Regions from separate parts of the Homo sapiens genome. Here region 1 is linked to region 2. Evidence: promoter capture Hi-C in 16 types of primary human blood cells and fetal thymus (Javierre and others, 2016). All regions are on one chromosome and are shown on one strand. The core of a region is centred on a gene start or on the middle of the fragment in contact, and the rest is flanking DNA. Distances in the headings are between cores, read along the strand shown.

Region 1 (2,763 bases), core at 253-2,752, 2.1 Mb after region 2:
ACAGGTAGAATATTGCAATCTACACCAAATCTACAACAGGGTGGGGCATTCATTACTCACCCAGATAAACCAAACATAACTCTGGTGGTTGATCACAGTAAACCCTAACTGTCCCCGTAATACCAACACAACTAAGGCACGGTTTACTCTTTTGCCCAAAATGCTTTTCACGCAAATTAAAAATTAAAAAAAGAAGTTAAATCATGGCCAACTACTCTTCAGAACATGGTGCAAGCCATGATAGTGCACTTAAGATTCTGAAAGCAAAATCTAAAATAGCAGAATGATCTCTATTCACTTTAAAGATATAAAGTTTCACAAACAGTTTTTTAATTGTTTTCTTTAGTGAGTGACCATTTGAATGTGTGACTGATGCAAGAGTAAAGGGTGAACGAAAGAACAAGGTCAAACTTAGGGGACAAAAGATTCCTGGAATAACATGGCCAGAAAGGTTTCCTCTCTTAGGGACAGTTTCTATATTGAAAAAAAAAAAAAAAAAAAAAAAAACAGAAAAGAAGAAGAAGAAAGGGAAACCTTAAAAGGAAAAGAAACCAAGCAAACCACCTACTTCTAGAGTCCACCTGGTCAACACGCCTGCCCCGCGAGGCAGGTAATTCGATTTTGGTGGAGACCGTTTTGCAAAATAGCAGGCCTGGTACACTACTACCTTTGAAAGACAAAATCGGTTCAGAAAGGATGACAACTAGCTATTCTTTCTCATTTAAGGGGAGAGAATAAAGTTTCATTAAGATGCCACACAGAGCACTGTAGGAATGTGAGGGTCGCTCTCAATACCTGGCACCGTCTGCTACGGGAAAACAATCGGCAGAAGGAAGTGGATTGAAGCCCGCAAACTACACTCTGCTTCCCACACGCAGCTGGGCTCTGGGCGCGACGCCCCCGAGGCGATGGGCAGGGGCCGGGGGTGACCGGGGAGGAAGCCCGGGAAGGCGGCGGCGGCGAGGCCGGGGCGCCCGGCCGCAGCGGGAGAGGACAGCCCGTCGGAAGGAGAAGTGGGGCCCGCCGGCTGGCGGACTCGCCTCACCTTCTGCGCCGCGCTCTGCTGCAGCACGTTCTGCTCCACGGTCATGGCCCCCGCGGCGGCGGCGGCGGCGGCGGCGGTGGCGCCCGGCTCCTCGCGCCTCCGCCGGCCCTGGCTGCCGCGCTCCGCCGAGCTCCAGGGAGCGGCGCGGACGGCCTGGGAGGACAGCGCCCCCGCCAGCCAGGCGCGAAGGCGATGGCGGCCGGCGTGCGCGGGCACCGCGGGCAGGCGGCGAAACGCCGACTGTGAGGGCCACGGCGGCCGCCTCACGTCTCCACGCGGCCCGCCTCAGCGCCGCTCGTCCGCGGCGGCCCGGGCCATGAGCGGGCGGAGGACGCCGGGGCACGGGAGAGCGCGAGCCAGTCGGGCGGCGTCACGCGTTCGCACGTTCCTTTGCTGCCGGTCCGCGGGCTGCTTTGGGGAAGGGAGAGAGGGGACGGAGGGAGCGGCCGCCCGGAATGGCGTTGTCCTCCTCCCTCCGCGAGTCCTCCTCCCTCCCCTCCCCCACGCGCCATCCCCGCCCCCGCCCGGCGGCTCCTCCCCCGCAGAGCCCCGCCCGCCGGCCGCCCTAACCCTACATTGTGACCCTCCGGGCGGCGGGGCGGGGCCGCCATGGAGCCCCGCCCCTCCCTGCGCGGGCCTGGCGTTCCCGGGTGGGGCGAGGGCGCGCCTGGCTGCCTGGCCCGGGAGCCGCCCCTGCGGCAGGTTGCGCGACGCTGGCGCTGGGCTTCGGGGAGCGCGACTGGAGGCCGGAGGGCAGCGTTCCTCCCTGCGCCCAGGGCTTGTCGGATCCCTAGCTTACCCAAAGCCTCCAAAGCAAACATTTCCCTCCATGCCCATAACGTCCCAAAACTGCGTAGGGTCCCGAACTCCGGCCCCTTTCTGTGTCACGCGTTCTCTCCCCTCGCCTTTCTAGGAATTTCACAAGCCTTGAACTTGCCTGAAGGGAAAAGTCAAATAAGCAAAGGGTTGCCAGAAATCTTTATGCTGGGAAGTACTTTTCTCCTTAACTAATCATTACGTAAATGAATATAGACATTTTCTATCTACCTTCATTCATTCGAATATGTGTCAGTCACTGCTAGGCTCTGGAAAAATAAAGTTTATCTTCCCAAGACTTAATATAAATGAAATAGGATCTATCTAGCAAACAACCTTACAAAAATATCACTGCCTAATGATACATAATTCTAATATCCCAGTTGCCAAATTAAGCAAACAATTAACTACCATGCATGGAATGCTTGACTATATATGGAATTGTAAGGAAAATCTAACATTAAGAAAGCAATCTCTAGCCACAAAAATATCTCGAGTTCCAGGAGCTAATCTGGGAACGGAGGTGAGAGTGCAGCAGTGTGAGGAGAGAAATTATCAATGCATATTGTCACAAATAGAATACACTTGAAAATCCGGGTATAATTTTTAATCCAATGACAAGGAAAGCAAGCTTGGCAAATGCTAATTGAAATAGTATGTGGTGTTATTTAATAATCATGGATTATAGTAGCTCTTAAGGCTTTGTAACAGTTCTGTGCACTTTACAACCATCTTTGTTCTGCAGCTCAGATGTCTGGTACCACCTGTTGTCACCTTTTCCTTGAAGCTTCATATTTGTTGACTCATTTGATATTTAACAAATTGCAAATCTTATTATATTAATATCCTATGTCTTTTCTAGAGGAAATGAAAAGTCATGAAACGGTTGGAAACAGAAATTT
Region 2 (3,172 bases), core at 636-3,135:
TATAAATTATCCAGCCTTGGGTATTCCTTTATAGGAACACAAACTGACTAAGACGAGCAGTGAAAAGAAACCACTGTTACAAAATACCATCGTGAATCTCAAAAACATGCTGCATGACAATAGCCAATCACAAATGAACACACACTGCTTAATTCTATGTATATGAATTCCTATAACAGACAAAACTAAAACACTTCGTCATATAAATTAGATCCCATGTTGAAGGAGCTTGACCAGAAAGGAACAGAAAGAAATGTCGGGGCTGTGGAAATGTTCTGTATCCTCACTGGGGTGGTGGTTACTCAAGTGTATGTATTTGCCAAAACTCATCAAATAATGCTTTTAAAATGGAAGCATTTTATTTCTGTAAATTATTCCTTGATTTTTTTTAAAAAGCCAACAACAAGAGAGAAGAGTTTTAAGAATAGCAAGTAAACAATGTGAAATGCCATAGGAAGGAAGACAATTCTGAGAAGTGAAAATAACTTGTTTCAATTTTTAAATTTTAGTGATTTTAGAACACTTTTATTGAATCACTTTAAAAGAGTCCTTTTTAAAAGAATGCTTTTTATTGAAAAGATGGGTAGAATCCAACATGCAAGGTATCTTAGTCGTAGTTACCTAGAATGAGAAATTCGAAGAGAAAAAGCACAGGCTTTTCATTTCAATTAGTGCATCTCAAACTTCGATGAACATAGGAATCTCCTGGCGGTCTTGTTAAAGTGCAAGTATTGATTTAGGAAATCTCGAGTGGGGCCTGAGATTCTACATTTCTAACAGGAAACCAAGTAATGTCAATGTTGTTTGTTCATCTACTACAATTTAGGTGGCAAGGACACAGATCGCTCCTGCGAGGCACAAATGCCATAACTGGAGTGCTAATTTGGCCCAGAAGTTTCCAAGATCTAGACAGTCCATTCCTAACCATCAGTTCAAGAATGCCTACATGTAGATTGACAGGCTAGCCCTCTTTCTATGTGAGTGCAACCAGAACACATACATATGATGCTGTAGAAAATAACATTGATCTTAGGTCAGTAGCCTTCGGTTCAAGTCCCAGCCTTTTTCTAACCAACTGTGATAACCTGGGTCAATTACTCGTAGGCTGCAACATGAGAGAACAGTTCCTGTTTCTCCTCTGTAGGTTACTGTGAGGACTACAATGGAAAATGTAAGTGAAAGTACTGCAAGAACCATACCCTAAAAAAAACAGAATAGCTTAAACAAAAGTCAAGCAAAGAATTTGAGAACCAAGCAGGACCTAAAAATAAGAGGTGGGGCTTCGGGATTTTTCCCGTGGGCGTTGAGGGATGTACCATATTGGGGGCAGGGGCGCCCCACAACAAATAATGTATTTGAAAAGATTCTGTATTTGAAATTATGCCTCTATCATGACACCTGAATATGAACTTTTCCTTCGTTAGATACTTCAACTGGCACTTAACTATAAGTTCAGTGACAGTATTCTGCTTCTTTCTCCTGAAGTCAAAGTGCCACCCACGCACCTCTCCCGTTCTGCCATCCACCCGCGGCTTTCCTACCCCCGCCGCCTGCGGCCCCCGCCCCGGGGCAGTAGTTTGCACTAGGCTGAAGGGAGAGGTGGAACGGATTCGTCTATCTACGCACCTCGAGGAGGGGTGTGTGAGGAGCTACGTTCCAGAGAACGGTAAGAAACTCCGGCCAGGAAACACGGGATCACAGGAGAACTCGAGGCGAAGGTGCGGCGTCGGTGCAGGAGCGGAGGGGCGGACCCACAGCAGCCCGGCGAGCGCGCAGGTGTGCCCGCGGCCGCGCCACCCTCCCCGCAGCCTTTACGGGATGGAGCCGGCGGGAGAGGGCGGGGCCAGGCGCGCGGCGGCCGCCTCTGCTGCGGCCGGAAACAATAGTGGAGGAACCCGAGCCGCACGGAACGGCGGTGGTGGCCCGCGGAGCCGGACGGTAAAGACCCCGCAGCCCTGCTCCCATCCCACCTGAGCCCCGACCCCCAGTCCCATCGTTCCGCCTCCTTCGAGTTCCGAGCCCCGTGGCCCCTCGCGCTGCTGCGCGCCAGGCGCCCCGACGGACAGACCGACGGAAAGACGGACTTGGGTCCGCGACTCCCTGGGGGCGGCCGCGCGCCCCCAACGCCGAAGGCCGGGCCAGGACCCGGCTCCCCGAGACGCTGAGGCTGGGCGGACCGGCCGCCGTGGCCCTCGGACGCTTTCTTCCCTCTGGGAGGAATCCCGGAGCGATGGGACGAGGCTCTCCCGCCCGCCGGGCTCCAGGATGCCGCGGCTCTCCCAGCTCCGGCTTGGGCCCCTCCGGCGGTGCCCGGCCGGTACCGTGAAGCCGCCGCTCGGCCTTCGGTGTAGTTGCCCCGGACACGGCGGGACGCCCTCCCCGGGTATTCGGTACCCACGTGCATTTTGCTGCCGCCGATCTCCGTTCGATGCGAAGCTTCGCAACTCCGAGTTCGCGAGGCGCATCTGAGGTTCCCCCAATGAAGTTAGCAAAGCAGTGTCCCGTGCAGGTCGTTTTTCCTGTTTCTCACAGCGTTAACTAGGTTGACAGAACCTGGTAGCTGAAAAGGCCTCGCTGCTAAGCCCTCTGATTATTCGAGGTTGGGGGACGAAGGAGGAGGACTAGAATGCCGGCAAATCTCTTTCCTTCAGGTGCCACTAACCCAATCAACTATAGGACAAAAAAGACACGGACATAGTGTCACCTATGGCCTGGCTTTAAGTTTTACTAGCTTTGTGTCTTTCCACAGGAAAAGTGCAATGTTGGAGTGCAAGTATGGCGATGCTTGTTTGATGGAGCTTTTGCTTTAAATGAGCTGAACAGCATCCTTATTTCCTAGAAGTTCCCAGTAAAGGGAACTACCCCAAAGGCAGGTTCATGAAATTGTGTAACTTTCCTTTTCTGTTTCTTAATAGGGGCACTATGAACGAAGAGGAGCAGTTTGTAAACATTGATTTGAATGATGACAACATTTGCAGTGTTTGTAAACTGGGAACAGACAAAGAAACACTCTCCTTCTGCCACATTTGTTTTGAGCTAAATATTGAGGGTAAGGACACAGTATAGTTTTGATCTTATGGAATGAATTTAACACAGCTGCTTTGTACTGATTGTAAGGTAAAACTAAAATGTCTTCAATGATTGGAAATTGTGCTAAGTATGAATAGTGTAG

What was found. The method cuts DNA at HindIII sites, captures the fragments that hold promoters and counts their contacts. A CHiCAGO score of 5 or more calls a contact.
Region 1: the fragment with the promoter of USP25 here is called in contact with the fragment with the promoter of C21orf91 in region 2 in 10 of 17 cell types (non-activated CD4 T cells, fetal thymus, total B cells and 7 more); the score reaches 15.0 in non-activated CD4 T cells.

What each region holds. Positions count from the first base shown.
Region 1 is chr21:15,728,721-15,731,483 of GRCh38, reverse strand. It overlaps USP25 (ubiquitin specific peptidase 25), which reads right to left and starts at 1,502. Exons shown (of 26, transcript NM_001283041.3): 1 at 1,046-1,502. The coding sequence starts at 1,090. RefSeq lists a silencer at 938-1,897. The HindIII fragment of the contact is 4,884 bases long and covers 1-2,494 here.
Region 2 is chr21:17,818,069-17,821,240 of GRCh38, reverse strand. It overlaps C21orf91 (chromosome 21 open reading frame 91), which reads left to right and starts at 1,885. Exons shown (of 5, transcript NM_001100420.2): 1 at 1,885-1,938; 2 at 2,916-3,049. The coding sequence starts at 2,923. The region is part of intron 2 of LOC124900465 (a long non-coding RNA gene); the gene reads right to left. RefSeq lists an enhancer at 1,191-1,240 and a silencer at 1,491-2,270. The HindIII fragment of the contact is 2,618 bases long and covers 1-2,438 here.